Regions from separate parts of the Homo sapiens genome. Here all the other regions are linked to region 3. Evidence: promoter capture Hi-C in human tissues and cell types (Jung and others, 2019). All regions are on one chromosome and are shown on one strand. The core of a region is centred on a gene start or on the middle of the fragment in contact, and the rest is flanking DNA. Distances in the headings are between cores, read along the strand shown.

Region 1 (5,567 bases), core at 79-2,578, 250 kb before region 3:
GCCCCTCTCTGAGAAGAGCCGTTCTGAAGACCTCCCTCAGTGCATCCCTACACGTACTTTTTGCCGACGAAGCAGTGAGCAGCAGTGAGCACCCATCGTGAATTCAGCAAGCTGCCTCCACATGTGTGGTACCTGTGGCTGTTGTACGTGAAGATCTGGAGGCTGACCATCCAGGGCCAGGCCCCATGCTGTGCAGCCTTCCCGCCGACGATGCGGACACCACCCTGTGGGTTTTGCCTGAACCGTAACCCACAGGGGCCACTGGGGAGAGACCAGAGCACAGTTCAAACCTGGCATGAGCACAGCCTGTCCTTGTAACTCCACAACTGAGGGGAGGCAGGGACATGGGGTTGGGAAAAGTGGGGAAGAGCTTCCGGGTTCTGGGAAAGCAGGGGCAGCCTGCGCTATGTAGGAAGCCGCAGGCTCTAGGAAATGGTTCTGGGGCCACGACTTCTCAGGTCTTGTGGGTGCAGTCACAGATGGAGAAAGAGGAGGCCATAGGAAGCCAGGACAGGCTGCATGGGCCCTGAGGGATGGCCCGTCCCTGGGCAGAACAGGAGGGTAGAGGTGGGGATGCGGGGCCTGGGGACAGAGGGGTGTAATGGCCTGAGGTCCTTATAACCAATCTTGGGTGGGAGACTCAGGGAAGTCAGGTGATGAAGGGGGTCGTTGACAGTGATGGGAGGAGGGATAGCAGCCAGGGGCAGATACTGTGGCCCACAGGTGTAGGGGGCACACTGAGAGCAGTGGAGGTCTAGAGGTGGAGGCTCTGGGAACTGTGTCACGGGTGGGAGGCCACATATAGCTTGGGAGGTGTTGGTATTTCGGGGTACCTTGGAGTGAGAGAGCCTACTGGGGGGTAGGGGTGCAAGCGGTGTGAAGCGATGATATCCTGGGGCTGTTGGGGGCAACCACGGGTTGGGACAGCTGTCTGTGGGGGGATAAGGGCTCCCAAAATCAGGACTTCATGTCTTCAAGACAGTGGGGTCAGTCCCTGGGGGAGTGGGAGAGGCACAAGGAGCCTGAGGTGCTGAGGGGTCCATCTCTGGAGGAAACCACGAAAGCTGAGGGTCTGGGGGCTCCAGGCTGCTGATTCTGGGAGCAGGGGGGGTCCAGGTTAGGGATGCAGCCTCCTTTTCCCTAGCCCTGGACAGAGGGAGTCGGGGTGGTACCTGCTCCTCAGAAGATCCTTCCCCCACCAAGGTGCCCCGACACTTACTCACACGTGGCGTTATCTTTAGCAACCACGGACACTGCCAAGACCAGCAGAATGGCAGTTGGTAGCATCTCAACCATACTCCTGGCACTGCCTGGCCTGCAAGCCTAGTGACCTCACAAAGCTCCGTGGCTGCCTGGCCAATCAGCAGGGGTGACCCCCACCCCACCCCCAGCAGTCAGGCCAGGTAAGAGCCCCTCGCCTTAACTGGTTTGTGCTGAAGAGACTTCTTGACTTCCTGCATAGGCTCCCCCACCACCAGGATGATGGGGGACTCCTGTGCAGCCCCACTCCCTCTGTCCCAAGGCCAGGATCTCCATTCCCAGTAACTCTTGCGAGGTCCCCACATCACCCAAGGCTCTGGCTTTGTGCAGGTTCAGAGTCTGCCTCTCATGCGTGCTGTGACCACTGCAGACTCACAGACTGAGGAGCGGCTCAGCCCTTCAGTGATGAGACGGTGCAACATGTTTGTGGATCAGAGGAGTCAGGGTCAGCAGATTAATTGATCCTTAATTGTTGTTGGGGAAGTTTTCTTTTCCTCTTCCAAGTGAATGCTATCAACACACTTTTCCAAGAGTCATTTTGAATTTTCCTAATTTACAACTGCAAAGCCCACCTTCCTGTCCGTTGCTGAATATCACAAGGTCTCCTATTATCCTGAATGTCTCCAGATCGGCTTTCTGTGACTGAGGTGGAGCAAGGTGTTTTCTCCTATACTTGAATGTCAAGAGTTTTCATACAGCTACCTGAATATCATGAAGCATCATTTTTCCCATCTGATCATCAGGAACTAGCATCTCACCTACCAGAGTGTGACAAATGCTTATTGCAAACACCTGAATGTTAAAACATTTCCCATCGCCTGCAAGTGTCAGGAGGTCACACTCTTACCTGCATGAGGGCAGCCTTACCTCTTCTACCTGAATGTAAGATCTCAACCAGCCCGAGGGTCAATAGGTTGCACATCATCTAAGTGGGTGTCAGAAGGTCCCATGCCTCCAACCTGAGTGTCAGGACATCTCATCTCCTATTCCTGAGTGTTGAGTTTTCAGATTATCAGATGATCTTGATTTATCTATTTTCTCTAACTGAATGTCGTACTTATGACATCCTCAAATGAATGTTCAATAGGTCTCGTATATCTTACCCAGTATCAGGGAGTGATCACCTCCTTCTTTGAAAGAAATAACAACTCTGTTTTTCCACTTCAGTGCCAGAGGCCCTCATCGCCTCCACCTACAGGTTAAGAATTCTCACCTCCACCACCCAAGTGTCACCCTGTCGCACTTTCTCTACCTGAAAATCAAGAGGTCTTACATCTTCCAGCTGAATGTCAAGAGGTTGTATTTTACCTATATGAATGTTCTGAAGTCTCCACCGGTATACCAGAGTGTTGGGAGATCTCATTGCCCCCATCTGGGTGCCAGGGCATGTCCTACCCTCTACTTGAATATAGTCTCATATCCCTGTCTAAATGGCATGGAGCTTTCATCTCCTCTGCTAGAGTATCATGAGATCTCCTCTATTCTGGGTGTCCAAAGTTCTCATCTCAACCCCCTGAGGTCTGGAGGTATTCTCACCTCTTCCTGGTTGTCTGGAGGTCTCATCTCCCTTACCTGAGAGTCATGAAACCTCCTATCTCCTATATGCCCTATCTAAGTCATGACACTTTATCTCCTCCGAGTGTCAGGGGATTTTTCTACCTTTATGTCAGGTAGCCCCACTTCCTCTAGCTGAAGGGCATACAAGTTCTATTTCGTGACTTGAATGTGAATAGGTTTCAGCTGCACTACTGAGTGTTAGCGGACCTCACTTATTTTAACTGAGCATCAAGTTGTGTCTCATAAATAACCAGAAAAAGACTTTGGAAATATGGTTCAAGAAATGGCAAGAAGAATTGAAGAAGTGGGCCCAAGTGCAGAGGCTCATGCCTGTAATCCCAGCACTTTGAGAGGGTGAGGCAGGCAGATCACTTGAGCTCAGGAGCCCCAGACCAGCCTGGGCAACACGGCAAAACCCCGTCTGTACAAAAAATACAAAAATTAGCCAGGTGCAGTGGCACCTGCATCCCAGCTACTCAGAAAGCTGAGGCAGGAGAATCATTTGAACCCAGAAGGCAGAAGTTGCAGTGAGCCGAGATCGCACCATTGCACTCAAGCTTGGGCAATGGGAGTGAAACCCTGTCTCAAAAAAAAAAAAGAAGAAGATTAAAGTTTTGACTGTTAAAGAAAATATTATTCGGGTGTTTTTAATGGATAGCACCTATTTCTTTACAAATATTTAGGAGGTATCAATAAAAAAGTCTGAAGACCCAATGTCAGTGTCTGGATTCTAGAAGACCATTACAGTTTGACTCCGCAAAGCTTACCCACTTCTGATTCTAGAAGGGGCTGCCAGTCATCGTGCCTGCCCGTGGCTATAGTGATGGTTGCGGGAAAAGTACCTGGCCCGGCCCATTTAATTTTGTCATTAAACTAATGGAAGCAACAAACATCTCAACTCAGAGTGACTTTGTCTGACCTTCTTCATGCTGTTCTAAGAGCGAAGGAGAAATGGGTGACAGGTCTGGGGCCAGAGGGTGGGGTCCCATCCGAGGGCATGGCTCAGGCTGAGGCAGAGTGCTCAGCACAGGGGGCAGGATGGGGGCTCCCCATCTCCCCTCAAACTCCTCCCTGCTCTCTGCTTCCACCCTGACCCCCAGGCACCCCTCCAGCTCATCCCAGCCATTCTCGCTGCTCCTGCTCACCCCAACCACCCGCTGCCTTCGCCAGCCGTGCCCACTTCTGTCCCCATGCCTTATTTACCTGGGCAATCCAACTCCCACCCCAGTTTTTCTCACCCTGATCTCCAATCCCTTCCAGCCCCCAATCCCCTACTTTTCCATTCCTGTCCCCACCACCCTCCGTGAGGAGCAGAAACCTTATCCAACCATCCTCAATGTCCAGCCAGCCAGGAAGGCAAGAAGATCCCAGAGGGAGTAAGAATGGTTGACGCAGTGAAACCTTGAGGGCCGAAAAGGGGTAGGTTTCAGGTCTTCACCCAGGGGAAGCAGGTGCCTCGGGGGTGGTTTAAGCAAGCAGGTGAGGGTCTGGGTGGCGCCATGGAGAAGGACGAAGGCCCTTTGAGGCTATGGTTGATGACAGCTTGAAAACCAGCCTCAGGCTGGGCAAGGTGGCCCACACCTGTCATCGAAGCACTTTGAAAGGCTAAGGAGGGTGGAGTTCTAGACCAGCCTGGGCAGCAAAATGAGGCCCCCATCTCATAAAAAATAAAAAAAAAATTAGTCAGGTGTGATGGCCCACGCTTGCAGTCCCAGCTACTTGGGAGGCTGAGGCAGGAGGATCGCTCAATTCCAGGAGGTTGAGGCTACAGTGAGCCACGATCATGCCCCTGCACTCCAGCCTGGGTGACAGGGTGAGACCTTGTCTCAAAACAAAACAAAAGCAGCCTCCATGTCCTGGCCCTGCCCCAAAGTTGTCCACAGGTCTTGGGAGTGGCTGGGGGGTGCCAGCCCACAGGAAGAGCAGAGGCCACACAATTTCAAATTTTCAACATTTCCTAATCCTCATCTTATTTTCAGATTAGAAACTGAGGCCATCATAAGGAAAGGGCTGCACGGGAAGTCAAGGAGGGGGGCCCTGCAAGGGTCTGAGTGTGGGAGCAGGGGGCCCCTGACTCGCTCTGGGCCTGAGTGTGTGGAATCGGGAGGGTGGGTCTCCCTGGGCTGCACATGGAGCCCTAGGCCTCCATGGGGACTCAGAGTCTGGGGCTAGTGGCACTTCTCCACGGTGCCACCGGCCCCACCCCTGGCTAAGGTTAACCACAGAGCCAAGGTATGCGATTGTCATTCTGTCATATTCACGCGCCTCCTCAACCCAGTGTGTCCAGGCTCTGAAACCACTGCCCCTCCTGTAAGCAACCCTCCCCACCGGGGACGTCACATCTCTGCAGCCCCTGGCCTCAGTGCTGGGTCCTGTGCCCTCTACTTTCTCACGGCTCCCTCTTGATTGCCTTTGCCCACTTGCCTTACTGTTTGCCCTTCAAGACATAGCTCACCACCTCCTTCCACTCAGCGAGGGGTCTCTGTCCCTCCTGTTGGCTGGCCACCCCCACCAGGTGCCACCCAGGACGTGTCTTTTTTGCCACATTATCGGCTGCTCACATGACTGCCTGTGCGCTCCTGAAGGACAATGTCTTGTCTCTGGTGCTCAGGGTGGGAGCAAAAAGGAAACCTCACATCCAACTGGGCAGACAACCCAAGGTGAGAAGCACCAACTTGCTCTAATTTGAGATAGCACCAGGGCCGTGCAGACGCAGAGCCTAACATCTAACTGGGACTCCAGGGAGGGCG
Region 2 (4,829 bases), core at 997-3,496, 230 kb before region 3:
GAGACCAGCCAGGGCGCTGGGCGGGGGGTGGTGCTGCCTTCGGAGAGGTTCCTGGGGACCCCGGCAACCCCCTCCCACAGAGGCCAGCCTTGACCCGACTCCACCCCGGGGAAGCCACCGTCCGGACACAATGGACGCCCGCGGCAGAACCCGGCGCGAGGAGCTAGAATGCTCGGGAAGATGGGGTTGGGACCCGTGGTGGGCGGGGAATGGAGGGCAGGGGAGAAACAGGGAGCCCAGAGCCCGGGCTCCGAGCAAGACCCTGGTCTGGGCTGGTCCCTGGATGCCCAAGCTCTGTGCCCCAGGCCCAGGGCTGCACGGGGAGGGCTCTTGTGAAGAGGACAGGAGAGAGGTGTGCGTTCAGTTACAGGATGGAGGAGGGCCCCACCGGGGACCCCTGAGAAAGGACACAAACTCTGACGGCCTGGGTTGGGGCCAAGACCTGCCCAAACCCAGGGTCATCAAGCAGGCCCTGAGAAGATATCCCAGAAAGGCAGGGACAGCCCCGCAAGACATGGGGACAGAACTGCTGAGGGGCTTGGAGGGGCCAGTACAGGGCTCCCCACCCCAGAATCAACAAGGCCGACGCAGAAGTACCAGCCCTGGAGGCAACCAGAGGTGAGAGGAAGATAGTCGGAAATGAGCAGGAGTGACACACTGGCAGGGTGAGGGGCAGCAGGGCTGTGGCCACTGGAGCCAGGCCTCCAGCAGAGAAAGACCTAATGCCCACCCAGGTAAGGAGGTGCCCTGTGGAGGAAGCCTTGAGAGGCTCCTCCCAGAGACCCGCATGGGTGAGTGGGTGAAGGGAAGAACGGACGGATCAATCAAAATGGAACTGCAGGCTGAGCACCCAGCATGTTTCATTTTAACCCCTACTGGCAGCGTGACCCCAGGCCAGGCCCTGAGCCCCTTTGAGCTTCAGTAACCCCCCTCTGCATGCCTTGCTCAGACATCATTGTTAGGGTCCTGTGCAGGGGCTGGAGTGCTCAGGGCCCTCATGCTCCTGCTGTCCAGCAGAACCTGACACAACCTCCTGAACACCCCTGTGGACATCATGATGCGGACACACGTGCTGCAGGTGTGTTCAGTGAGGCTGCAGGGGGCGGACGGCCCCACACCCACACACCCAGGTCTCGTGGTGCTCCTGTTCCCAGCCTCACTCTGAGATTGGTCAACATTTTTATGAACTCGCTAAAATACAGACTGCCTGTTCCTGATCGCATCCTCCTCCAGCCACCGCAGTGCTAATGAGGCCTCCAGTACTACACTGCTTCTTGCTGGGCATAATATCTCTTTGTAGCCAAGGTACCAAGGGTGGGCTTTTGTGTACAGACCTAGGCTTGAATTTTAGATCTGCCAGGAACTTCAGAAGCCTCTAGGAACTTCAGTTTCCTCATGTCAAGAGGACAGCCTGCAACTATTGTGGGGCGATTTCACCTTTACAGTGCAGGGCTGAACTGCAGCAGTATCCTGGGAATGGGGGAAGGGGGCCGAGGTCATCATCATCGTGATTTTTAGGTCTGCCTTCCCCCCATCCCCAACCGCTGGACAGAGAAATTGTGCCCAGTTCGTCCTGGGTCTCCTGCTGCATTCCCTGCACTGTGTATGAACACGCAGTGAACACCCACAGCCTATGTGTTAGATGGAGCGACGCAGAATGAGCGCACCTTGAGGATGCAGAAGGCGGGAGTGACGTGCAAAGATGAAATAAGGGGAAACTTAATGCTAATAGCATGCCAAGTTCTGACTTAGGGTAAAGAAAAGTCACTTGCCTCAGCATGGAATGGGGAATCTGTTCTGATACCATCTGGGGCGGGGGTGGGACCCCTTGGGGGCAGAGGCAGACCCTCTTTGTCTGCCTAGGTCATAGCAGAGAGCATTTCTCGAGCACCCACTGTGTGCCAACCTCAAGAGGCAGCATCTACGTCTACTAACACTGGCAGCTGCTGAGCACTCCCAGCATGCCACGCGGTCTGTGAGTGCCATCTACCGGGGGAGACTCAGAGTGGTCCTTGGAGGTGGGTAATAGGTGGTCTCCATGTTTATGGATCAAAATCCTGATGTTTCAAGGGCTGCATCGTGTGCCCAGAGCAACAGAGCCAGGGCATGGGGCAGGGGCCTGGGGAGTCTGACAACCCAACCAATGTGCATGCTGGCAGCTGAGGCCCAGCAGGCCAAGAGGAGCCAAAAAGGAGCACCTGTCCACCCATCCATCAACCGAGTACAAGAGGGTGCCTGAGGGACCAGTGCAGAACTGGCAGTCCTAGGAGAGTGGCTCAAGGCCTGCAGGGCAGGTGCATGGACCTAGACCTGCAGGGTCGGGCCCAGGAACAGCAAGAGTCAGAAGACCCAGGTCAAGGGAGGCAGAGACAAATGTTTCCAGATGAAGCAGGAGAGCACTGGGGCCGATCTCCAGGGCCCTGAGGCAATGAGGAGTGCACAGAGGGTCAAGCTGGACGGATATGGGGTGATAGCAGCTCTGCGGAAAGCCTGATTTGGCCAGAGGGATGGACCAGAGGGCAGAGCCAGGGCAGGCAGTCATGAGAACAAAGCCATGGTCCAGCTGCAAGGTGATGAGACCTGTGCAGGGCAGGGCTGTGAGGCCACCCACCCCGACACATCAGGTGAGGCAGAGGATAAGAAAGAAACCATGGAAGACACTCAGTGTTTAGGCCAGGGAGAGCAGGGGAGAGCGCTTCTCAGCTCCAAAGTAGCTGCAGCCTCACCAGCCTTCTTCCCCACAATCCCACCTACAGAAATAACTCTTGGCAGTCTCTGAGGGACCAGGTCACACACCCATATGCCTTTTCCACACTGCTCTGTCAGTTCACCCCATTATCGCCCAGAAACTCCCATTTATCTTGCACATCTTAGCTCAAAAGTACCCCCACCCCGACACACACAGCCTTCTGTGACACCAGGTGTGCTTGGAGCCCCCCAGTGGGCTCCATTGGTCCGTGAGCCCTGGCACCCACAATGTGCCCGCTGAGCTCTCTGCACACGTCACATTCCCTAACCAAGCCCCAGACTTGGCCCAGGATCGGCCTTGTGTGAACACAAATTGGCAGGGTCCTGAGGCAGGTGAGGAATCCGAGTTTGGGCAGCTGTGTGATCTTGGGCAGGTCATTTACCCTCCTTGCTTCAGTTTTCTCATCTGTAAAATGGAGGTACTAGTGGTCTCAACCTCAATATGGTTATTCTAAGTATTAAATGCTCAGTGTCCAGCCCGTAGTAAGTGCTGAGAGGTTTACTCCTATGTGTAACAGATGGGAGGTGTGCTGGGGTTTGTATGGACAACGGACGGTCAAGTGGGCAGGTGTGTGGGTGGACAGATGCACAGGTGGGCAGGGGACGGGAGAGTGGATGTCTGGAGGGATGCACAGTGGGCAGGGCTTGTTACATGTCCCCATCTGGGTCAGGAAAGGAGACGGTGAGTGTGGAGTGTGATGGTGGCTGGGGAGTGGTGAGGCACAGAGGGGAAGGAGGCTGAAGACACAGCCTTGAAAAGGTCCCATATTTGGGAGGCTGGGGCGGCAGGGTTGAAATAGGTGCCATCTGAGAAAGGAGGGGAAAACCAGTAAGTGTTGTCCTAAAGCTTTGGGGAGGAGCGTTTCACGGAAGAAGGAGCAAAGAAACCAAATGCCAGCTGAGGTCAGCAGGAGTGCTGGCCATGCATCCATGGGGAGGAAGGCCCTGGAGGCCGCCGGTGACCCTGGTGGGAGCAGTTTCAATTTGGGTATGGAGAGAGGAAGTCTGCCGCAGGCTGAGGAGCCGGTGGGGGACGGGAGACAAGATGGACAGTAGAGGTGACTTTTTGGGGAAAACTGGCTGTGAAGGGGGGAGACAGCAATACATGGAGAAGTAGGGGAGAGGCAAGTTCAGGGGGTTTGAGGGTCAGAAACTTCACATGCACTTGGGCTGCAAGGGAGCAACCGCGATGGAGGCAGCTGAGCTGGGGACAGGGATGAGGCTGCCCATGGGAAGGATGAGAGGTGATGGGGAGGTGGGGGTGCCCAGTGGACAGGGAGTGGCAGCTGGGGACAGGGATGAGGCTGCCCATGGGAGGGATGAGAGGTGATGGGGAGGTGGGGGTGCCCAGTGGACAGGGAGTGGCAGCTGGGGACAGGGATGAGACTGCCCATGGGAGGGATGAGGCGATGGGGGGCGGTGCCCACTGGACAGGGAGTGTCGGCTGCCGGGGGAAAGCTCTGGGTTGGGGAAGGCCTAATCCCCACATGTCCATCAACGTATGAGATCCTTTAGCTGGGGCCAGGAAGAGACAGGACTGAGAGGGAAACTGGAAACCCCAGTTATGGGCAGAGAGAGGCAGTGTCCTTCAAACCCAAGTCCACCCTGCCGGCCCCAGCCCCGTTCCTCCCCACCCCATGCAGCCCCACAGCGCAGCCATACCTACAGACTTGGTCCGTGGAATCCCCTTCCGCAAGGAGCCCGGCAGCTTCTCTGGGCCTGGGAGGCCCTGGCGTTCAAACAATGACTGTGGGGGTCAGGGAGGGGAATATGGAGGTTCCAGGGCACTGGGGGCCCCCAGTCCTCCTCCTAAGCCAGAGGTGAGACACCCCACGCTCTCACTCCAATGGCACTAGTGCCTGTGGGTGCCTGGACCCAGGAATCACGTCTGGACTCTGCCCTCAGGGAGCAGAGGATGCAGCCCATTGGAGCCTGGGCTGTGTGGGCAGTGCAGATGGTGGTACAGTGTAGACGGTGTTGGGCAGGGTGGGTGCAGACCCTGGCCGACCCTGGGTGAGGGTGGGGGAGGAGCCTAGAAGGCGCCGGGTTGGCAAGTGGGCAGGGAACAGAGACATGCTTTG
Region 3 (6,358 bases), core at 3,667-6,166:
TTCTATTTTCCAAAAAATGCCTTTTTTTTTTGAGACGGAGTCTCGCTCTGTCACCCAGGCTGGAGTGCAGTGGCTCGATCTTGGCTCACTGCAACCTCCGCCTCCCAGGTTCAAGTGATTCTCCTGCCTCAGCCTCCGGAGTAGCTGGGATTACAGGCACCGACCACCAGGCCCAGCTAATTTTGTATGTTTAGTAGAGACTGGGTTTCACCATGTTGGCCAGGCTGATTTCGAACTCCTGACCTCAAGTGATCCTCCTGCCTCGGCCTCCCAAAGTGCTAGGATTACAGGTGTGAGCCACCGTGCCTGGCCAAAACCTTGTTTCTACTAAAAGTACAAAAAAAAAATTAGCCAGGTGTGGTGGCGTGGGTCTGTAATCCCAGCTACTAGGGAGGCTGAGGAAGGAGAATTGCTTGAACCCGGGAGAGGGAGGTTGCAGTGAGCTGAGATTGCCCCACTGTACTCCAGCCTGGGCGACAGAGTGAGACTGTCTCAAAAAAAAAAAAAAAAATTAAGGGAAGGACTGAAACATCGACCTGCCTTTCTATACGAACAGTGCCACTGTGTAGCCAAAGAGCACGTGGGAGGCAACTTCCACTTCCTGAAGTGTTCCCTGCGGCGGACGAGGACAGAAAGTGACCTGGGCTGTTCCATACCCAGGGGAGTGGGGGATCCGGATAAGCTTGAACGCCCACAGCTGCCCGCTGACAACACTCAGGACAGGCACCGCATGCCTCTTCCTCAGGAAACACCACTGCCTGAAAGCACTCGTGCCCACAACCAACCAAACAGGATCTGGGGAAGCCTCTAAATCCGTGCACCGATTGGCAGAAGTTCAGAGGAAAACGTTAACAGGTACAGAATCCCCACAAAGACGAATTTCCTGGGACAATCTACTTTCTTCAGAGATGAATTTCAGAGAAGATGGAGGGGAGGCCACTCTTTGGCACCAAGGGCTGCACGCCTGGGTGACAAAACCATGTAGAGAGGATGGACGGTGGCTGCAGAGCCTGTGGAGGGGCTGCTCTGTGCGGGGAGCCGCACCCGGGGCATGCGGAGGGTACTGGAGAGTCGGTTCAGGGGTGGTGGCCGCAGGTGTTTGCTTTATAGCATTTAAACTGTGCACTTGTTTTATTTTATTTTATTTATTTTTTTTGAGATGGAATTTCACTCTTGATACCCAGGTTGGAGTGCAGTGGCACAATCTTGACTCACGGCAACCCCTGTCTCCCGGGTTCAAGCGATTCTCCTGCCTTAGCCTCCTGAATAGCTGGGATTACAGGCGCCCACCACCACGCCCGGCTAATTTTTGTATTTTTAGTAGAGACGGGGTTTCACCATGTTGGCCAGGCTGGTCTTGAACCCCTGACCTCAGGTGATCCGCCCACCTCGCCCTCCCAAAGTGCTGGGATTATAGGTGTGAGCCGCTGTGCCCAGCCTGCATTTGTTTTTTGTTGTTTTCTATGAATGTATTATTTTAGCTATTGGGGTATTTTTTAAGGGGACGGAGCCCAGAGGACTTGGTGACTGTTTTGAGCATGTGGGGGTGAGCTGGGTGACTCGTCCCCCAGGCTCTGACACAGGAGCTGGGAGGATGGGCAGATGTTTACCACGGCCAGTGTGGTGGGACACACACACCTGAAAGCCTGGGACTTGGCCTCCACCCTGCTGGCACCATCCCTCGGCCTGGGCCACGCCCTGCTGCAGTAACACCCAGTGGGGCTTCAGAAGCACAACATCCTTCCAGGTCTTTATTGACGCCAGGCACAAGTTGCCGTGAGGGGTGGCGACCCTAAGGGGGTGAGTGGGGTCCCCCACCGAGGTGAACCCTGATGGCGGCTGTTTGCCCAGGGCCAGGCCTCTCCAGGCAGGCGGAGGGCCAGGCCTAGGTCCAGCAGCAGCTTGGGTGGCAGGAGGGTCACCAGCTCAGGATGCCAGGGCAGTACTTGTCAATGAGCCCCTGGTAGTAGGGCCGCAGCTTGTCCACGTCCGGCAGGTCCGGGCACTTGGTGTAGAGGTCGAACTTGCTGCAGCAGGGAGGGGCGGTGAGCCCCGTGAAGAACCCCCAGGCCCCCCACCCAACCCCCTCTTTCACTCCCACAACACCCCTCGGCGGGTAGCGGGGCGTACTTGAACTCCCGCACCCAGGGCAGCATGGCCAGGTCCTGCTGGCTGCACAGCTGCTGGTAGTCGCGGCCCGTGTGCCAGGGGTAGAAGGAGTGGAACCGGATCATGTAGAAAGCCTGCGGGCAAGGCCACCCAGCGGCTCACTTGGGGCTGCAGGACCGGGCCTGGTGGACGGGCTGCGTTGCCCCTCCCCCCACCTACCTCAGGGGGCAGTGAGAACTTGTTAAACTTCATCACCTGGTACATGTACTCTGTGGGGAGAGGGTGTCACCAGCAGGCACTGCCTCTGCCCCACCGCCCCCCACCGTCCCCCACCGCCCCCCACCGCCCCACTGCCCGCCTCTGGCCTCACCATCATGGCCCCAGGACATGAGGACCCTGTCGAGCCCACAGTGGGGCTGATACATCCCGAGCTCTGTGCTGCAGTGAGATACCAGGGTGAGGAGGGCTCAGCAGCCGCCCAGGGAAGGGGGCCCAGCCCTCAGCAGCAGGGAGCACCTGTATCGAGGATCCTGGAGGTCAGGGTTGTCCTGGAAGGTGGAGTCGCAGAAAACCACGGAGGCCTGCGGACGGCATCCGACGGGGAAGGTGTCGCCGACGACAGCCCACTGCAGAGGGACAGGAGGGACGGGAGGCCATGGGGGGAGTGGGGGAAGGTGTCGCCGATGACCACCCACTGCAGAAGGACAGGAGGGACGGGCGGCCATGGGGGGAGTGGGGGAAGGTGTCACCGATGACTGCCCACTGCAGAGGGACAGGAGGGACGGGCGGCCATGGGGGGAGTGGGGGAAGATGTTGCCGATGACTGCCCACTGCAGAGGGACAGGAGGGATGGGAGGGACGGGAGGGACAGGAGGGACGGGAGGGATGGGAGGGACAGGAGGGACAGGAGGGACAGGCAGCCATGGGGGGCCGTGGGGGAAGTGGGGGAAGGTGTCGCCGACGACCGCCCACTGCAGAGTGACAGGAGGGACAGGCGGCCATGGGGGGCCGTGGGGGGAGTGGTGCGGGGAGGCCGTGGGGGGTGCACTGGCCTGTCCCCCAGGTAGTATCCCAGGCCAAGCACCGAGGCCACCAGAGGGACAGGCAGCCGTGGGGGGGGCCGTGGGGGGTGCACTGGCCTGTCCCCCAGGTAGTATCCCAGGCCAAGCACCGAGGCCACCAGAGGGACAGGCAGCCGTCGGGGGGCCGTGGGGGGTGCACTGGCCTGTCCCCCAGGTAGTATCCCAGGCCAAGCACCAAGGCCACTCCACCCCCACCTTGCCTCAACATGCAGCCTCCTCACCCTCCACTTCCAACTCTTACCTGGGGCTCCCCGAACAGGGCCAGGACCTTCCCCAGGTCGTGCAGGAGCCCGACGAGGTGGAACCAGTCTGGGAGGGGGATGGACAGGGCAGGTTGGGGACTGCAGGGGCCAAGGCAGAGGATGAGCAGGTTTGCGGGGCTGAGAGCCAGGAAGGGTCCAGGGCCTGCTCCCCAACCCAGGCAGGGCTGCTGGAGGAGGCCTGGGCCCACTACTGTCCCCTCCCACCCTACAGGCTGCTGCATTCTGCCCCTTGGAGGCAGCACCTGCCCCCCTGCAGCACAGCCAGGGCTCACCCTTGTCTGGGTGGGCCTTCCGGATGCCCTCCGCTGTCTGGAAGGCATGGAAGGAGTTGGGGAAATCTACGTCCGGGTCCGACTCATCCACCAGCCCATCCAGCAGGTCCACGGCCTCCATGACTGTCATTTTCTTGTAGGAGAAGCCCCCAAACTGGGCATGCTGGCGGGGAAGGAGAAGGCAGTGTGGCCCAGGGTCAGCAGGCCCACCACACAGGCCTCTCCATCCCCTCGGCGCCTGGTGGGCTCATGGGGCTGAGGGCAAGGGTCCCTCCGCGTTTGCACGGGGCGGCAGGAAACGCCTACCTTGCTCCTGACGAAGTCCACTGTCTGGTGCGTGTGCATGAGCTTGTAGGTGGTGAAGACACGGTCCAGGAGGGGACCTGACTGCAGGCCGGAGGGTCAGTGGCGCCACCCCCACCCTGCACACGAGGCCCCATGCCTCCCCTCTCCCAGGCAGCCCCACAGGGTGTGATGGGGGTGGGAGTTCCCACAGGGCACCCCCTGGAACTGTGTGAAGGGCAAGTGCTGCTCCCCAGGGTGTGGATGGGGGAGAAGGGGGGCAGGACGGCAAGGTACTCACCGTGTAGTTCCGGAAGCTGGCCTTGTCTTTGGCCACCTCTGGGTCCACATCAGGTCGGTAGACCAGGGAAGGGTCTGGGCCCTGGGTAGGTGGAGGATTGAACCTATTTCACCATCATGTCAGCTCCACGAGGAAGCACAGACATTCCCAGGGTGGCTGCAGACTCCAAGCCTGCCTCTGCTCGAGGGCTGGTGGGTGACACGCGAGGACACAGCCTCTCCCACGCCATCATCCCAGCCCCTGCCCTGGCCTCAGCGAGTCCCAGGAGCTCTCACTCCCAGGTCCTCATCTGCAAAGCGAAAGTCAGCAGACGTCTGCTTCCGGGGTACAGGGGACACCACGCCTGAGCGGCACCCATGGCCACCCTTGAGGGGTGGAAGTGGCTTTGGGAGGAGACTGAGTCCACAGGGAGCCTGGGGGTCGGCAGCCGCTGGCTCTTGCCCAGCTGGACGGAGGAGGAGGGCTGGCCAGTGCCAGCTAGAAGAGGGCGGGAGTGGCTGGCCACCAGGAGAGCAGTCAGCAGAGCCTCTCTGCATGGGGTCTGGGTACTCACCACCGTCACCTTCATCCTGAGAGGGAGCGGCGCTCAGGTGGCAAAGCACAGGCTGGCGAGTGTGTCCTCAGCCAGGCTCCTATATACACCCCAGGTTACATAAGTGTCCGCAGTAATAAATGACCATCCACCCTCCTCCCGGCCTCAGGGAGTTAATGTGTCAGCACAGCAGCAGCCCCCAGCAGTCCCACATCCTCTGGCCCTGACTCAGCCTCACACTCCTGTCCCGAGCCGCTGACCTGCCTAGGGTTATCTGTGGGCCCAGCCTCCCACTTGGGCCCTGGCCTTAGACCCCTCTGTGGGGTCCCACAAGTAGGGGCAGACCCAAGACCCCACCCTCAAGCACACGCCCCCTCTGCACCACCCCTTCCCCGGCTGCCCCACTGGATCTCAGGAGGTGAAAACTTGTCCCCAGGCCCCCCGTGATTCTGGGTGGGGCAGGAGCTTGTTAAGAAAAGATGATTCTGAGGACTTGTTAAAATGGTGAGAAAAGCTTTATTCAAGAGAGTGGTGAGAGGAGCTCACCTCCGAGTTCAACAACCACAGCTGGAGATTGATGGCGTTGGAGGGGTCAGCGGATGGGAAGTTGTTAGGGCGGCCTTCGAGGGTAGGGGGATTCTCACTGGAGTGGCTCAATGAGGATCTTGCAGGAGGCCGGCAGGGTGATGAGATCAAGGGTGGGAGATGAGGAATGGGATCAGATATCGAGGGTGGGTAATTCTCCATAAACTGATTTAGAGGATTCTTGCTAACACCGGGGTCGGCGGGCCCAGCGAGGATGGGGATGGGGTCAGGCCTCGTCGAGGAAAGGACTCAGGGGCACCTGCCTAGAGTTCGGCCACAGAGTGTGTCAGGCTCTGGGAGAGGGGCCTCACGGAGAGTTGGAGCAGGCACGGAACCGCCAACACCCAGGCCGCCAACGCAACTTCCCATGCATGGGCCCTGCAGGCATGGAGGACACCGTGAGAACAAAGTGCCCGCGGCAGAGCTGGCGTCTTGGAGCGTGGCCAGGGAAGTCTGGGAACAGCAGTCGGCTGGGGCAGGAGAGAGGGCAGTGGGGTGCTGGGGCCATACCTAGGGCTGTGAAGATCAGAGTTCTGGGCTTCAGGGGTCAGGCAAGAGGGCTGTGGGCAGCTGACCTGACTCAACAAGATCCTGGCACAGCTGAGCTGAGAAGCAACTGTGAGGAGACCCCAGCGCCCCCCATTTAAACGGCACCTGCCCCACACTCTCCTTCCTTGTCTGACTTCCTGTGGCACTCAGCACTCCCTGCCACTCCACCACCCACTTATTCTACCTTCTACGTTTGTCTCCTTCTATCTCCCCCTAGAATGTCAGCCCCTGGGGGTCAAGGCTGTATCCTCACGTGTCCCAACACGGGTAGGTCACGTGCTCAGCATGCACTGGCCAGAGGGATGCAGACAGGTGCCTGGGAGGAGGCTACGGCCATCGCCCCGAAAGCAGGTGGTGCCTGGGTCAGGAGAAGGTGTCTGGAT
Region 4 (5,624 bases), core at 2,657-5,156, 210 kb before region 3:
TGACATAATCGCTGATGAAGGAAAGCAGGGAGGAGTGAGGTAAGCCCTGCCTCGAGGTTGGCCGGCCACAGTCCACCCTGCAGTCACCCCGGGACTGACAGGCCGGGCAGCAGAAGAGAGGTCGGCCAGGCACATTCCCTTGCCCTCCTCTGACCTCTTCATACCTGGCCTCCCTCTACACTGCAGGTCCTGCCCCACGTCCCACATGCATGCTCCCGCCAGCCAGGGTCCCTGCACGTACCTGTGTGAGGTGAGGCTGTCGTAGGAGCCCACTGTGTAGTGCCGAAAGAGCCGCTTCGTCCGGTCCTCCCGCGTTTCTGAAGGGAGTATCGGGAGCTGATGGACAGTCGTGGCCTCCAGCTGGCCTGCCTCAACTGCCCTCACCCATGCTGGTCACCAGTCTCTGCCCACACACACCCCCTTGGCCTGGTTGTGTCCAGATGGAAGTAGGGGGCCCCAAATCCTGGAGTCCTGGGTCCAGAGGTAAGAAGGCTGAGGGGATGATGTAGGGAATTCTGACCTCCGTGGGTCAGGGCCCAAGAGGGGGCAGCAGCTCATCTCTTTCCTAAGTAGCTGCTGAACCAGGAGTCCAAACAAGGCCAGAGCCGTCCACAGAGCGTAAGTGAGCCCCAAGGCTGCGAGCAAAGAGGGGGGTGTGCACATACGTGTGTGTGTGAGAGATCCGTGGTCATGTGTAGATGCTGTGCTCATGCACGTGTCTCTATATGAGCCCACTGTGTGCAAGTGCCGTGCTCATGTGTCTGTGTGACCTGCCGTCATGTGCGTGTGAGGTGTGTTCATGCATGTGTGTGTGCACATCTGAATCTGCATTACCCACACTCATGTACAAATGCCGTGCTATGTGCCTATAGGCGCTGGCATGGAAGCAGCGTTCTGTCTTCACCAACTTCTTCACAATAGCTCCTTGATGCTCAACCTCATGGGGTCCCTTGCTTCAGACTAACTGTGAGTGGGGCAGGGGATCTAGGTGTGTGGGCTGGGTCCCCTGCCCTGACCTCGATGCATCCCACAGAGCTTGGTCCCCAACTGTCCTCTTGATCTCAAGTCCCACATGGCCAGCACCAAGCTAGCCAGCTGTCTGCCCACCACTCCACCCTCACTGACCTGAAGGTTCGAGCCACACCTCCAGCCATGACCTCTCTGCTCCCACGAGCTCCTCCAGCTGCCTGCGAGCCCCACCCACCAGCCTTCCCAGCCCCGCAGCTCCACTCTCCAGGACCGCAAAGGCCCCACAGGCAGCACCACCACTGCCTCGCTTTCATCCCTCAGCACCTTCCTCATTTCCTCTCTTGGTAGCATTTCTCAAGATCCATGTTTTCCTTCAGCAAGTATTTATTGAGCTCCTACTGTGTACCAGCTCTGCAAATACAGCAGAGAAGAGAACAAAGTCTCTGCACTCGTGGGGTTTATAATCTGTTCTGGGAGACAGGATAAACAGAGGATAAAGACATAGCATGCGAATGCTGGCAAGTGCTCAGGAGACCAGCGAGCAGATCAGGGAGGGCAGAGAAAGGCACGCAAAGGCCTCACCCCCACGGGAGGGCTGAGCAGAGGCTGAGGATGGGGAGCAGCCTGTGGATATGTGGGCAAAGGGCTTCCCAGGAGCGGGGGTGGTCAGGGGAAGCCCACGGCAGGCATCAGCCTGCAGCATTTGAGAGAGTTCAGAGCCTGTGCAGCTGGAGCAGAGGGAGCTAGAGAGAGTGGCAGGAAATGAGATCAGAAAGATAACCTGCAGCTTTCGATGACCTGTTTCCCCCACTAATTGTGAGCTCCTTGAGGGTAAGGGCCACATGTTCTTTATCTCTGTGATCCTAGCACCCAGCACAGCACCTGGCACGTCACAGGCATTCTGCATGCTGACTAGGAGAGTAAATGGTGGACAGGTGCATCTGAGATAGACGGACAGAAGGGATGCTGACTAGGAGAGTAAATGGTGGACAGGTGCATCTGAGATAGACGGACAGAAGGGTGGATTGAAAGGCACTGGACCAGTGGATGGAGGGAGGGAAGGAGAGGGCCATGGGTAGATAGGTCAAAGAGCAGACAGATACATGGGTAGATGGATGGATGGACTGGGTGTGTAGACAGGTAGGTGGAGAGGTGGATGGATGGAGGAAGGGAGGGGTGGTGGATTGGGTTGGCTGGTGAGTCAACGGTTAAGAAGATGATGGTGGGATGGGTGGGTGAGTCAAAGGATAGATGGCTGTAAACATAGGTGGAGCAGTGGCCGGACGGAAAGAGGAAAGAGTGCCTATTTCTATCAGAAGGCACAGATATCAAAAAAGTATCGGGCTGGATTCCAGGTCCCAGCTACTACGTTGTGTGACTCTCAGTAAGTCAACAGCCCCCTCTAAGCCCGCCCATATAGAATAGAGAAATCCAACTTGGAGGATCCCCTTGGTTCTGATGACCTATATCTTATCCTGGCATTCCCCAACCACACCTGCACCCCTCATCCCGCTGAACCTAAGGCCAGCTCAGGCCAAGCCTCATCACCACTCAGGTGGGGCATCAGACCCCTCCTTTCCTCCATCACACCCTTCTCCACGTCGACAGAGGCACGGAAGTGTCATGGTGCTGCCTGCTGAAGAACCCGCCACACTTGCACTTGACCAGCCTCCTGTTTTCAGATGTTGTCAACCAAACAAATTGTATGGATTACATAACACAAACTCATTTTTCCAGTTTTGTTAATAAGACACATAAAAGCCAGCTGAAGAGAAAATGCCCAACACAGCCATCTCCTACTACCCACCCAAGTGCTGACCTTACTGCAAAGAAAGGGAAGGAGGGAGGGGAGGGAAGGCACAGGGCCTGCTCCTGCTGGGCCTCCAGAACACACCTGACCTCGCTTCTCCATTCCCTCCCTCACAGCTCCACCCTCTGCCTGCCAGGAGGTGCCGTGGGAGACTGCTCTCTGCTGGGTAAGTGACCAGGACTCGCCTCCCGATCCCACAGCAGGCACCGGCTCTGGGCACCAGCCCCTGCACGCACAGGGACTATGTCCCCTCCCTAACCTTTAAGTCCTTTTCTGTCCCCACTCCAGTCCCGGAAATGGATTTTTTTGGGGGGTGGGGGGAGCAGATCTGGGCCTGTTGGAAGCAGGTTCCTGTTCCTGGGCTGCACTCTGGCCTCTGGCAGAACTCGGCCCCGGGATCCCAGAGCAGAGGCTCTGCGCAGTGTGGCCAGCAGGGCCTGCAGCCAAGGTCAGAGGGCACTGTCACTGCTCCCACTCCCTGCCCTTCGCAGGCAGCCTCCGCAGGTCCCTCTCCCGCTGCCCACTCATGAAATACTCCCGTCTACCCCGGGACCTCTGACACTCACTCCCCAGGTCACACACACCATGGCTGCTGGCTGGAGCCCAGACCTGAACCCTCCTCTCCATTGCTCTGCTCTGCCCAGCCCGGGCTTTGATCCTACACAACCTGCACAATCAGACACTGCGGCTGGGTTCCCTCCGCCATGATGCCACACTGTCACTTGACTCCATGCCACCTGACCACCCCGTGGTCCCCACACCAGCCTCGCCCCTCACCCCATGCAGGCGTTTCACTCACATAGAACTTGCTGCCTGTGTTGCAAACAAGACTTTGCCCCTCAGGGCCATGTGACCCCCTAGAAATGGAATAACAACAAGTGGCCCCACCTCTTGGGACTGCTGGGATGAGTCAACGACTTATACGTGTAGAAGTGCTAAAACTGTGCCAGGCACTCAGAGCAGGCCGTGCTGACACACAGCTGTAGAGCGCCACACGGACCCTGCACACACGGCTGTCCCCTCAGCCCCAGCCGCTGACCACCTAGAGGACTCAGCTCAGACAATGCCTCTGTTTTGAGGCCCTCTCTGACTCCTTCAGGCCAGCCCAGGGAGCTCCCACGCTCACACGGCCCCCGTCACAGCCACTGCTCCCACAAGGCTTCCAGCTGAGCCTCCGTGATCCCGGCTCCCAGCACAGGGCCCAGCACATGACAAACACCTAAAAAACATTTGCTGCTCTCCAATTCTGACTCCAGCCTAAACCCCCCTCCCTCCCCGTCAGCTTCAGACGTAGGTCCAAATGCCCCTCACTCCACACAGTCCTCAAACCAGAACCTTCCTCACCACCACGTGGGGGAGCTCAAGACCCGCTCCCGCCACAGGTGTGGATCCCCCTACCTCTCCTTCCCCTCCCCTCTCCCATACTGTCTGAACCAGGGCCCAAATCTCTGAAACCATTTCCCATCTGGACCCTGCCCTATCCACCCTCCGCGGGCTGAGAACAGGGGGCCAAGTCCCTTCCACACTCTAAGCCACCAGTCAGAGCAAGGCAGAACAAGGCCAAGGAAGGAGGAAAGGGCACCGGCCCAGGAAAAGGTCAGTGGCGAAGCTCCTGCCTCCCTGGGCCTCTGCTGAGCTCAGCACAGGGCAGGGGTCCAGGCCGTACAGGGGTGGAGTCGCTGGGAAACTCTCAGAGGTGGGGACACAGAGATGGGGACACAGTAACCCCAGGCCTGAGCCCTTCACATGCAGAGGGAGGGTGCATGCACCCTTGATCCAGACACACCACCGATGGCCCCCAGTGACCATCACTCAGGAGAGGTTTGCTTGGCCCACCAGCTCTCCAGGACAGAAGCACATGCATGGATCTGGGGGCCTCCCGGGACCCCTGAGGGTTCCTTGCAAGGGCACCCCCAAGACACGCACCCAGCTCCAGCCCGGGGGCCCCCAAAGGACCAGATGGTCAGCAGGGCTGGACAGCAGCCACTCACCAACCCAGGAGCTGCAGCCTTCACCTTCACATCCTCCCTGCAGGCTGAGGACCAGCCCAGCCTCACCTGCTGCCCTCAGACCATCCCTGCCCCAGGGCACTCACCAGGGCACCTCCAGGCCCAACTGGCCTCATTTCCTCTTGGCTGCTCCGGGCCTGCCTGCTCTGCCCACTTGGACAATCTGTCCACTTTGGAAAAACGCCTCTTTTCTCACACTGACCTCCTTACATGTCTGCCAGCTACGCAGGAATCATGCGTTCCACACACCTGGTGTTTCTGAAGGACTGTGCTGGTGGGGTGCAAGTCACTGGGAGTCAATGTGGGATCACACAGACAGAGGCCCCGTCACACACGTCCTATGTGTCTCCACTGCACGTGAAGCGTCAGGTTACATACACGCATGTTCCCAAGTATATGCAGAGTGTGTGCACACGTGTCTGTGTCATGTACACAAGTTTGCATCTACTTTGAGTGTTTGTTTGAGTTTACCTCTAGTCTTTTCTCTATGAATATCCATGTGGATTTAGCACCAAGAGAGAACAAAGGGAAACTGGAAGGGGTGGTCCCCTTGGGAGCTGCCCGGGGAGCCGTGGGGTCACTCACCAGGCCGTGTGTCATGCTGCCTCATCTGCACTTCCTCCACGCAGTCGGCCGGGAACCAGCCCGTGCGGCCTTTCACGGTTCCCTCCCAGAAACCGCCCTCCCCAATGCTGAGCACTGGAGGAAGAAGCCAGACAGGCCGTCAGTGGGGAGCAGAGCTGGGCGCCTACCCCACCTCAGGAGCAGGTTCTGCCCACCCACCCCCTGCCCTTTCCCTCCTTCCCTTCCCACTTTCTCCCAGCTTTTTCCCTGGG

Evidence for each region. Contacts are between HindIII fragments. The study calls those that stand out against the background at their distance.
Region 1: a contact is called between the fragment with the promoter of ACR here and the fragment with the promoter of MIOX in region 3, in 8 of the 25 tissues and cell types used here (IMR-90 fibroblasts, dorsolateral prefrontal cortex, heart left ventricle and 5 more).
Region 2: a fragment that was not itself captured here is called in contact with the fragment with the promoter of MIOX in region 3 in 4 of the 25 tissues and cell types used here (dorsolateral prefrontal cortex, lymphoblastoid cells, mesendoderm cells and 1 more).
Region 4: a contact is called between a fragment that was not itself captured here and the fragment with the promoter of MIOX in region 3, in 2 of the 25 tissues and cell types used here (dorsolateral prefrontal cortex and mesenchymal stem cells).

Annotation. Positions count from the first base shown.
Region 1 is chr22:50,733,965-50,739,531 of GRCh38, reverse strand. It overlaps ACR (acrosin), which reads right to left and starts at 1,328. Exons shown (of 5, transcript NM_001097.3): 1 at 1,220-1,328; 2 at 58-261. The coding sequence starts at 1,296. It overlaps LOC105373100 (a long non-coding RNA gene), which reads left to right and starts at 1,363. Exons shown (of 2, transcript NR_134637.1): 1 at 1,363-2,142; 2 at 2,428-3,703. The HindIII fragment of the contact is 13,172 bases long and covers 1-4,851 here.
Region 2 is chr22:50,715,335-50,720,163 of GRCh38, reverse strand. It overlaps SHANK3 (SH3 and multiple ankyrin repeat domains 3), which reads right to left. Exons shown (of 25, transcript NM_001372044.2): 23 at 4,411-4,495. Among named protein-coding and RNA genes, the nearest start is that of ACR, 20 kb to the left of the region's middle. The HindIII fragment of the contact is 5,276 bases long and covers 1-4,829 here.
Region 3 is chr22:50,485,417-50,491,774 of GRCh38, reverse strand. MIOX (myo-inositol oxygenase) reads right to left here and starts at 4,916. Exons shown (of 10, transcript NM_017584.6): 1 at 4,863-4,916; 2 at 4,310-4,390; 3 at 4,033-4,113; 4 at 3,727-3,889; 5 at 3,433-3,500; 6 at 2,626-2,735; 7 at 2,480-2,547; 8 at 2,329-2,378; 9 at 2,131-2,243; 10 at 1,127-2,027. The coding sequence starts at 4,877. The coding sequence ends at 1,919. It overlaps ADM2 (adrenomedullin 2), which reads right to left. Exons shown (of 3, transcript NM_001253845.2): 3 at 5,338-6,358. The HindIII fragment of the contact is 6,574 bases long and covers 1-5,906 here.
Region 4 is chr22:50,698,553-50,704,176 of GRCh38, reverse strand. SHANK3 (SH3 and multiple ankyrin repeat domains 3) reads right to left here. Exons shown (of 25, transcript NM_001372044.2): 15 at 5,374-5,487; 16 at 242-317; 17 at 1-11. Among named protein-coding and RNA genes, the nearest start is that of SHANK3, 29 kb to the right of the region's middle. RefSeq lists an enhancer at 1-601. The HindIII fragment of the contact is 9,753 bases long and covers 1-5,624 here.